Linked DNA regions of Homo sapiens: region 2 is linked to region 1. Evidence: promoter capture Hi-C in human tissues and cell types (Jung and others, 2019). All regions are on one chromosome and are shown on one strand. Each heading gives the region's core, a stretch centred on a gene start or on the middle of the fragment in contact. The rest is flanking DNA. Distances are from core to core; before and after follow the strand shown.

Region 1 (5,320 bases), core at 2,098-4,597:
GGAGATTTTGTAGTTTTTATTTCAGAGATTTGCCCTTTAGTGCACTGATGTTGTGACATATCTTTTCCATGACACCTACATTTTACTCCAGGTAATAATTTTATGTTTTTCCACTTTATTATTTCGTGCTTGAATAGTACTTCGTCTAGCAAAAGTTTGTCCAAGCCACAGCCTGTGGGCTGCATGAGACTCAGGACGGCTTTGAATACGGTCCAACACAAATTCTTAAACTTTCTTAAAACATTATAAGATTTTTTGTGATTTTTTTTCATTCATTAGTTATCGTTAGTGTTAGTTCTTCTTTCAATATGGCCCAGGGAAGGCAAAAGATTGGACACCCCCACTCTAGTGCTTTATCAACATGGCTTACCTGTTTTGTTTTGTTTGTATTTTCTTGGTACAGCTTTGTCTTGATCTTCACTTGAAACTGTCTTCATCTTGCTGCAAGTGACATAACTGTTTGTTTTCTGCGAGCCTTCCCTGCACGACTTTTAGCTTCATGAGGACAGAGTGTGTGTGTTTCCCTCAGCACAGGATTCCCCATGCCCAGCATGGAGAATGGGCTCCACAGACAGGGATTATGCCTAGGAATGGTGAGCGCTACTTTCTTTTTGCATTTGCTTCTTGGTTTTGTGGTCAACTAAGTAATTTTTCTGGTGCAAATCACACTTACAACTCTGTATGATTAGAGTTCTTCTTAGAGAGACCACAAACGATGGAGGCCCACTCCCTTCACCTTCTAAGTACCCACCCCCTTTGATTGGCAGTGTCTCTTGATTCATTCACATGTATCCATTTATGGTATATGGATATATCTGTGTGTGGTATCTGCATGTGCATCAGAGGCAAAGTGGATCCCATGTGTGAATTTCCAGATAAGTGGATATTTTTAATTTTAGCACTAATTATTTCTAAGTTTAAGTACATTTTATAAATCTTGCTGAAATGTATTTCACTCATGCATCTTTAAGAGCATTATTAAGTGAGGCGTGACTTTGCAGCCTGGTGTCAGACCAGCTGCTGACCTGGTGTAGCAGATGTTGAGGCCCTGCTCCTCACCACCCAACCCTGAGTCCCCCTGGAATGGGATGGGCACTTGCCTGCCTGCTGACAGCTCCGCCCCTGGAGCCTGGCCTCTGCCTCTCTGCTGATGGCTTCTTGCAACCTTTGGAACCTCCTCAGCCCAGGCACAGGGTGGCCAAGAAGGTTTGCGATTTTAATAGTCCCGGAGGGGCACATCTCACCCAGTGGGGAACAGGAAGCAGTGGATGTTGGGAAGATCCTGAGCCATCGTCTATACAGTTCCTCCAAAGGACCCAGTGGGACTGGGTCCCAGTTGCCACCGCAGCAACCTGCTCATTAGCGCACCCTCTATGGCTTACCTCCCGCTGGCTTCACTCTCTGCACCCTGTCACTTTTGTTTCTGAGAACAGTCTGCTAAACAAACCACCTGCAGAAAGGCCCTTGCTCTAGATCAGCTTTTGGGACCCAGCCTGTCAGCTGGGCTGCTGTGAGTGCTGCCTTCAAGGCTGTGTGAGACTCTCAAGCCAGGCAAACAGTTTTTAGTATATGTCTGTTTCTCCGGCCAGCCTTGCTGCTGTCATTTGTCTTGCCGACAGCGTCTCCCTTTACTCCTTCCCCTGGGGAGAAGCAAGGAATGACACTGTCTGTTGTCGCAACATACTGTGCCCCAGCGGAGCTCCGTGCTGGACGCTCTACATGCACGAGTTCACGCAATCCACACAGCAGCCCTTCAGCCACAGGAATGTCACAGATGTGATCTTATTATCTCTATGTCATCATAAGCAAAAATTGATGCTAATAGAAGTTATTAGCCACAAGCTCATAGAGAAAAGGAAAGTTTTAAAAATAGTGTTACTTCCTCTAAGGTCATTTCCAGCATGCCCTGCTGCCTCATGCAGAAACAGAAAGCAGACAGAAAGGCTTGTCAGAAAATGGGTGAGAATGTACTTAAACGGAGGCTGTCTTGTGAGTAACATACGTGGATTGTGATTTTTTGTTTTTGTTTTTTTGAGACAAAGTCTCACTCTGTCACCCAGGTTGGAGTGCAGTGGCACGATCTTGGCACACTGCAACCTCCGCCTCCTGGGTTTAAGTGATTCTCGTGCCTCAGCCTCCCGAGTAGCTGGGACTACAGGCGCTCACCACCATGCCCGGCTAATTTTTGTGTTTTTAGTAGAGATGGGGTTTCACCATGTTGGCCAGGCTAGTCTCAAACTCCTGACCTCAGGTGATCCACCCACCTCAGCCTCCCAAAGTGCTGGGATTACAGGTGTGAGCCACCACGCCCTCTGAGCACACATGGATTTTGATCCCCTTATTTCTGTTTTGTTGGCTTTGTTTAGCAAAACAGTCATAGGTAGACAAATAGCAGGATGGAACTGTTCCAGACAGAAAGTGAACACAGTCAAATGAACTTTTTGTGGCTTAACACTGACCACCCAGAATCCAGTGTTCTACTCCAGCCCCTATCTCTCCCTGCAAAATTTATTTGATTACTGAATATCCTATACACCAGGCTTTGTCTTGATGGTTACTAGAAGGAGAAAGAAGAGTGGGTTTCTGCCTAGACTATGCCAGGTTCCAACTTACTCCTCACTTAAAGGTCTGGTGCTCTACCCCATAACTACAGGTGTTTCTAACTCAGCATGTGCATAACTGGACACATTGTCTTTTTCTCCAAACATCCTAAACAGTGCCACCTTCCACCCAGGCACCCAAGTCAAAAACCTGGGGATTTTATTAGAGACTTCCCCTGCCTAAGCCCCACAGCCCACCTGGGGAGAACAATGTGTTTACCTTGGCGTTCTCAATGTGTTCCCTCCCTGCTCCCAGGGCCTGCTCCCATTATTCTGAGCTACTGTGATAGTGCCCAAGTCCTTGAGAAACAGCCCAAGGAGTCTTCCTCAATTCCTGCTGCCCTGTGCTTCCCACAGCTCCTGGCATTGGTAGTTTCCAGCCTGAGGCCAGGAGAAGCTGGAGAATGCAAGCACCAAAGATTCCTGCATCTCACTGTGCTGAGATCATTGTCATGAATGAACTCAAAATATTATTCAACAAGGAGAAAAACAACAGTCCAAACTGAAAGGCTTACCTGACACCAGCTCGTAGAAACTGAGAACCAAAATGAGCACAAAAGCCATGGATATTCCTGTGGGTTGATCTCACACTATGAAAACAGATGACAGCAGGGGTGGATGGATGATTTGGAGGTCAGGCCAGCTGTCTCAGGCGCAGGAGCCGTGGAGAGGCTCTTCATGAACGATGTCAAACTGTGCATTTCTCCCTAGAGCCTCCCTAAACATGGCTGTATGAATGAGGAGTATGGGCACTGGAGTTTGAGTCACTGCATTTATTGGCAGGTCATAAACATCTATCTCAGACCAGAGAAATGATAATGGAAAGAGAGTAGGGTACACTTGGAGGGACTTTGTTCTGGGTTGTGCCCCACATAGGTGGTAAAGGAATGCCAGATGCAGAGATATTTTCAGGCTTAGTCTGGCAGGCAGAGCTGCAAGAGAGAGTGAACATCTGTCCCTGAAAGAGAGATTGGACGGGCGCAGTGGCTCATGCCTGTAATCCCAGCACTTTGGGAAGCCAAGGCAGGTGAATCACGAGGTCAAGAGATCGAGATCATCCTGGCCAACATGATGAAACCCCGTCTCTACTGAAAATACAAAAATCAGCCAGGCATGGTGGTGCGCACCTGTAGTCCCACCTACTTGGGCGGCTGAGGCAGGAGAATTGCTTGAACCGGGAAGAGGGAGGTTGCAGTGAGCCCAGATTGCACTACTACACTCCAGTCTGGTGACAGAGTGAGGCTCTATCTCAGAAAAAAAAAAAAAAAAAAAAAAAAAAAGAGATCATCTCAGCACAGGGTAGTGAGGCAGTGAATTTGCCCAGGCACACAGGCCATGCCCCATGAGACTCATATTTCCTGGCACAGCATGAGGTAATTCTGCCCATCCCTCCCTTGTCTTGAGTTCAGGGACAGGACTCTGATCATGAGGCCAGATTGTGTTGAACTTGCCAGAACAACCAGGACCTTGATCTCCAAGGATCCAAGGTATTGAGAAGGGGACCAAGACGATGTTTCAGGCCCGGGGGTAAGGCAAAGGCAAAGATGCATTCATTCAGTCATTCATTAGATGCACTAAGCCAGGACACACACAGTTAGGGATTATGCAGTGATTTCAAGTCTAGGGACATGCACAAAGAATAAGCACTTACTAGATCAGAAAGCAGGTTTCCACGGAGAGCACCACGAAGGACAACGAAGGTAAAGAGCAATTTAAAAAGAGGAAACCCCATGAACTTAGAAATTGTTAATAACACAATTTTAAATAACTAATGGGTCTAAGAGAACTAATAATAGAAGTTGAAGGTAATTAGACTAGAAGAAGAATGAAAACACTACATTTAAAATACTATGATGCATGTAAGGCAGTTCTTACAGAAAGGCTTATCCTTAAGTGCTTGTATTAGGAAAAAAGAAGTCTGAAATTGGCTGAACAAAGCATCTGAGTTAATCAGAGTTAACTCTTGGATCCTGAGGGTCTCTGGCCACTCGCCTTGTCTTTTCTCTCCCTTCACTTTTCTTTTTTTTTCCCCCACAATCTGTAAACATGTAATCCTACCTTAAGTACAAAGCCATTACAAATGCAAAAAAATCAAAGATTACAAGTCAATTTCTTTCTGCCTACAGTAATAGCTGAAATGTAAAGAGATCAACTTCAGAAAAAAATACATTGAAAAACATACCACTTTAATAAGACAAAACTGCAAATTAGATGAATAGAAATTAGGTAGATCCATTTATTTTTTAAATACAAGTATAATTTTGGAAGAGCTATTTGACAAATTCAGCATTAACTGCCAACTCTGTAGACATGTTTAACAACAACAACAAAACAAGACATTTACTCTTGGCCCTTTTAGTACAGGTGAAGTGTCCTATTGCATCACAAGTATTAGTAATGAAGTAACAGATCCAAGGGCATAATATTAAAGATGTTTTTTTCCAATTGCGATTTAGTTGAAAAATAACATAATACGAACATATATGAATGGCTATCAAGACCACCAGTGATCTGCAGAATACCTAGAGGCCTACGTACTTAGAAGGCTGAAACTAGTAAAACAGTATTAAAATCAGTGTTTTTATTCTAAGATGAGCAATGACAGAGTGAGATTTCTGATTCCAATTTTATAAGGTGCGGTGGGGAGTTGAGAGGAGATATTGGGGAAGACTGGCACTTTGTGCTGAGTTAGAGATGGGAATGTGGCTCAAATTAGTTAA
Region 2 (5,320 bases), core at 1,894-4,393, 200 kb after region 1:
GCTCTAGGAGGCTCCTGCTGGCTTGGTAGAAGACAGAATTCGATCTGCCTGTCCCTTTTTCCCCTGGGGTTTGACACACAGGCTCCTCTCAGCATGAGGTGGAGCAGTGACCAGGTGGAGCAGTGACCAGGACGCCTCTGGCCCAGTGCTGCCCAGCCTCCCCGCCCGCTCCCAGGCGCCCCATGTCCTCACAGGCCAGGACGCCATGGCAGGATGGAGAGGACTTGGTGGATTTTTGTTTCTTGCCTGACCTCAGTTTCATGAAAGAAAGTGGAAGCTACAGAATTATTTTCTAAAATAAAGGCTGAATTGTCTGAAAAATATTTATGTGTGTGTGTCCTGGAAAAGGAGGTGGCAGGCAGGGAAAGAAAGGAAAAGGGAGAATGAAGAGTTAAGGAGAGGGCTAGACGGGTGGGAGGAAGCAAAGTTGAGGAAAGAAAGCAGATGAGTGGGAGGGAAGAGCCAGGGACAGCCCAGGGGATGGGGGCCAGGTGGGAAAGGAAGTCCAGGCCACAAGGTGGAGAGGAGCCCCGGACTGTGCTCCTGCTGATCGTCCTGTAGAGCCAGGAGGCCGCAGCAGGAAAGCTGGTGAGTGTCTCCTGCTTCTGCCTCCTGCTGGCTGGGCAGGCCTGGTCTGGGGAAGAACCAGGTCCTCTGATCAGGGTGGTCCCTGAGTGGTGCTTTGTGCCCGGTGCCCTCTGCTGGCCCAGGCAGTGCTTATTGAGTGCCCTTTATGACGTGCCGGGGAGCCTCAGGGTACACAGCTGATACCAGGGTTGGCCTCACAGTGGCGCTTGGACTCCCAAACGCAACCCCAGTGAGAGTGCCTGTTTTGCTAATACCCAGAACACAGACAGACTGTTACCTCTGCATATCACGTGCAACATTCTGAGAGTTTCTGTTCTCCACTAATTCATTTAAAAGAACAAAACGCGGCCGGGCGCAGTGGCTTACACATGTAATCCCAGCACTTTGGGAGGCTGAGGCGGACGGATCACGAAGTCAGGAGTTCGGGACCATCCTGGCCAACATGGTGAAACCTAAAAATACTCTACTAAAAATACAAAAACTTGCTGGGCATGGTGGCACACACCTGTAATCCCAGCTACTCAGGAAGCTGAGGCTGGAGAATCACTTGAACCCGGGAGGCAGAGGTTGCAGTAATCCAAGATCATACCACTGCACTCCAGCCTGGGCGACAGAGCAAGACTCTGTCTCGGAAAAACAAAACGCTTTTTGTGACTCACGAACTTGATTTCATGAGTGGGTTTGAAAACCCTGGGCTAGTCCAGGCGCGGTGGCTCACGCCTGTAATCCCAGTACTTTGGGAGGCTGAGGCGGGTGGATCACTTCAGGAGTTTGAGACCAGCCTGGCTAACATGGTGAAACCCCATCTCTACTAAAAATACAAAAATTAGCTGGGTGTGGTGGCACATGCCTGTAATTCCAGCTACTTGGGAGGCTGAGGCAGGAGAATTGCTTGAACCCGGGACGGGGTGGTTGCAGTGACCTGAGATCGCACCACTGCACTCCAGCCTGGGCGGTAAGAGCGAAACTGCGTCTCAAAACAAAACAAACCAAAAACCCTGGGCTAGGCAACTTTCTTGGCAGAAACTACTTTGGAGCTCGACACCAGATGGTGGCAGAGTTGTCTGGGGAGCTGTGTCGAGGGCCGTGGCCTTGGGAGCAGCTCCAACCTCCCATCTGGGCTCAGAAACCAGTGTCAGACATTGGTTTTATTTTAACCTTTGAGATTTGTGTGGAGCGGGTTTTGCCTTCCCCTGTTGCTTAGATGGATTATTTAGCCATATTTTTTGTTAAATAAGGGGAGGTGGTCATTATCCGTGATTTCAGACGTGGAATCGGCCCGGCGATAGCTGCATTGTGCCCTTTCCGGTGGAGCCAGGAGGAGTTTGGCCGCCACGCTCCATGCGCATAGCATGTCATGCAGCTAGCCAAGTGCATTGTTCTGAGTGCTCCAGGATAAGTACCAACTTACTTAGTGCTCCAGGATAAGTACCAACTTAGTGCTCCAGGATAAGTACCAACTTACTTAGTGCTCCAGGATAAGTACCAACTTACTTAGTGCTCCAGGATAAGTACCAACTTACTTAGTGCTCCAGGATAAGTACCAACTTACTTAGTGCTCCAGGATAAGTACCAACTTACTTAGTGCTCCAGGATAAGTACCAACTTACTTAGTGCTCCAGGATAAGTACCAACTTACTTGATCCTCAGAGCAAGCCTAGGCGGTGGGTACTGTTTTGCTCCTGTTTTACCAGTGAGGAAGCAGGCACACAGAGGTGAAGTTGCCCAAGGTCACACAGATGGTTGAGGGAGAGCCGGATTGGAATGAACTCTGTGCTGTTAGCCACTGTGTGAGGCTGGACTGTTCCATTCCAGCCTTTACGGCCTCTTCCAGGCCATTCCCCAGCTGCACTTGGATTCTCAGGCCAGGCACCGGCGGTCTCCTGTGAGGGTGGAGAGGAAGAGGGGGCTGCGTGGCTCGGGGAGGTCCAGGAGAGATGGCGGGAGGAGTAGAGTTTGGGGCCTGCGGTGCCAGAGGACCCCCTTACAAGACGAAAGACTGGGTTCTCAGGCTCCTGAAGCAAGGAGCACCTTCAGGGGTCTCCTGGTATTCACCCATCAAGGCTTGCTCAGGTGGCATGCGTGTGTGCGTGGCGGCTGCCCCCGGGCCCGGAAGCGCCTGTGGATACCAAAGCAAGTGGAAATGCCAGATGGAAAAGCCCCGTGTTAGTCAATGCTGTAGAGTTCAGCCAGCCTCGAGTTTGCAGGTTTACAGAGCTGCCTTGCGCCTGGCTGCTGCTGCTGCTGCATTCCTGCTTCTGCCTCCAGCTGTGACCACCTCCTGCCACTCCTGCTCTCACTGTGGGTTCCTGCTCACTCTGTCTCCAGGACAGACTGCCTTCCGGGCAGCCTTCCCTCCTCAAGCCTCTTGGCCTTTGCAATCCTCTTACCTGGGTCACTGGTGGGATCTCATTTGTGGATCAAGTCGCCCCCAGTGGAGACAAATGTCTGATGGAGTCTGGCCAAGGCCCTCCTGAGCCTTCACTGGGCCCTGCATGAGAAGCCTGCCAAGGCTGAGGGGCCAGGGAAACGGAGACGAAGCCCTCAGAGCAGGCCAAGAGGGTGGGAGGTGGGGGGCATTTAGAGGGTTAGATACAGAGCACCCCTTTACAAATACCAGCTACTGGCTTTTCGTATTACATGTTCATTTTAGATACAACATACTGCACACGCTCCCTTAACGTGTGTTTACGCGTGGGTGGTGTATCCTTCCAGACGTCTTCCTCACATCTATACATAATATGCATAGATAAAACATTTACCACCAAAACCCATAGTGTTATGTACATATTTGTCTGGCTGTGTAACTTTAAATAACATACAAATGTATAGAACAGAAGCTTGCCCTCTTTCTGAAATATCTAACGTGGGATTTCAGGCTTTCTGATGAGACCTCTGTAGAGGTCAGTGTTTTGCCACCAGAGGTCCTTCAGCCTCCATCTGTTCTCCCACCTACCCACATTCTGGCCCCTGGCAATTCACAGGGAGTTTAGGAAGTAGACACCAGGGCCCTATTTCCTGGAGACCAGCCTGGTGGCCGATGTCATAGAGTGCGGTGGGCCTGGGCCGGCCCTGCTCTGGGCCCGTGACCTGCGTGTCTGACTCGGGTCCAGCTGTTCTTCCTGCCAGAGCCTCTTCCTGTGAGGCGGGGGTAACACAACCTTCTGTGGTGGCTGTGGGATTAATCCGTATGGCTGCATTGTGAGTAAAGCCTGGTGGAAATCTCTGTCTCCACTGCTTTCCTTTTCCTGCTGTTCACCTTGGCTCCCTCGACACTTAATCCCCCTCCACATGTGTCTGGAGCGGGCAGAGCGGGGGCAGTTGATAGAAAGGGGGCCGGGTAGTGCCAAGGCTGTTACTTTCCCCCACTGCCTCCCTTGGCTAACTTGAAGTCTGACCCTTTATACCAGAACTGTAAGACAGTGTGTCAGAATGGATTCAGTTGCAGAGCAGGAAGCCTGGATCCCAGCGCCGGACGGAAATGAGAGGTCGATGGTGCAGGCTGGTGTGGGGGTTCCTCCACCGTCAGGGCCCAGGCTCCTTCTCAGGTCTCAGTCTCACTCTTCTTAGCACGAGGTCAGGTCTCATTCCTTGGCTGCGGGAGCTCCAGCCAGCACACGTTTTAGGAAGAAGGAGGAAGGAAGAAGGTAAAGGGTGGATGGCAGCTGCCTCCTCCTCTCTTGGAAGCTCACAGAGCGCTGGGTCACAATTCCCTGGGTAGAACTGGATCACACAGGCACCCCTGTCAGCAAAAGAGGCTGGAAAAAGTATTTCTGAAGCTGAATCAAATTAAGATTCCTGTTACTAAGAAGGGAGTGATTGTATGGGCGACTACAGGGACCACGGCCATACACGGTGCCTGGAAGACCAAGCTTGTGACAGTGACGAGGATTTGGAGAGGGCAGGGTGATGGGGAGCTTTGGGGGGAGTGCATTAGGAACCCTGACCTGGAGAGGGGCAGAATGAAACCTGCGGGCCCCTAACCCTAGTGGGTTGTTTGAGAAACCTGTCCTACTGTGGCAGGGGGCTGAGTCTTCTCAGGGTCATGCATGAAAACTGAAATTCCTGAAGGCCACACACAGCCCCGGAAGTGCTGACTGACAAGGGCACATGCCAGTGATGCAGTTTTCTTTTTTGTCTTCACTTTTGTTGTTCCGCCGTCTTCAACACATGGCTCCCAGCTCACAGCAAATGCTGCCCTGGTTCAGCTACCAGGAAGCAGGAGAGGGGAAGGGAGGGCAAGCCTCATTCTTTATGGAACAAAAGCAGTGGGCAGACAGCCTTCCCTCACGTTCCACTCACTGGAATGTGGTCTGGCTGCCTTCCCTGCAGGAGGTGGGATGCACCCTCAGTGCAGCAGCCCTGCCCCAGCCAAAAACGTCTCAGCACAGCTGTAAGAAGAGGAAGATGGCTAGAGACAGGCAGCCTTCCCTGCAAGGGCAATGAGGCAAGCCTGCCAAAAGCCTCCTTTGGAAATACTGTTTGATTACTTTTCAGAGTTTCTATTTAGGAAAAGGGCAAAACCTTTCAGGATCAGGAGTAGGTGAGCGGCGATCAGGCCTCACTCTTCACCGAGGGCCTTCCCTGAGGAGGGGCCTGCAGGACGCTGGCAGCGGAATGGGGCTGTGTGGCTGCTAGATTAGGTCATGGCAGGGAGACAGCCTCTTCCTGGTTCTTGCTAGAACAGGCACACTTGGGGCCTTGAGCTCCAGGGAGTTCATGGAAGACATCT

What was found. The method cuts DNA at HindIII sites, captures the fragments that hold promoters and counts their contacts. A contact is called where the count stands out against the background at its distance.
Region 2: a fragment that was not itself captured here is called in contact with the fragment with the promoter of BTNL3 in region 1 in 1 of the 25 tissues and cell types used here (H1 embryonic stem cells).

The regions. Positions count from the first base shown.
Region 1 is chr5:180,986,873-180,992,192 of GRCh38, reverse strand. BTNL3 (butyrophilin like 3) reads right to left here and starts at 3,347. Exons shown (of 8, transcript NM_197975.3): 1 at 3,116-3,347. The coding sequence starts at 3,164. It also overlaps the pseudogene ARPP19P1. The HindIII fragment of the contact is 12,362 bases long and covers 1-5,320 here.
Region 2 is chr5:180,785,544-180,790,863 of GRCh38, reverse strand. MGAT1 (alpha-1,3-mannosyl-glycoprotein 2-beta-N-acetylglucosaminyltransferase) reads left to right here. Exons shown (of 2, transcript NM_002406.4): 2 at 1-5,320. Among named protein-coding and RNA genes, the nearest start is that of MGAT1, 15 kb to the left of the region's middle. RefSeq lists enhancers at 4,007-4,917, 4,918-5,320. The HindIII fragment of the contact is 7,218 bases long and covers 1-5,320 here.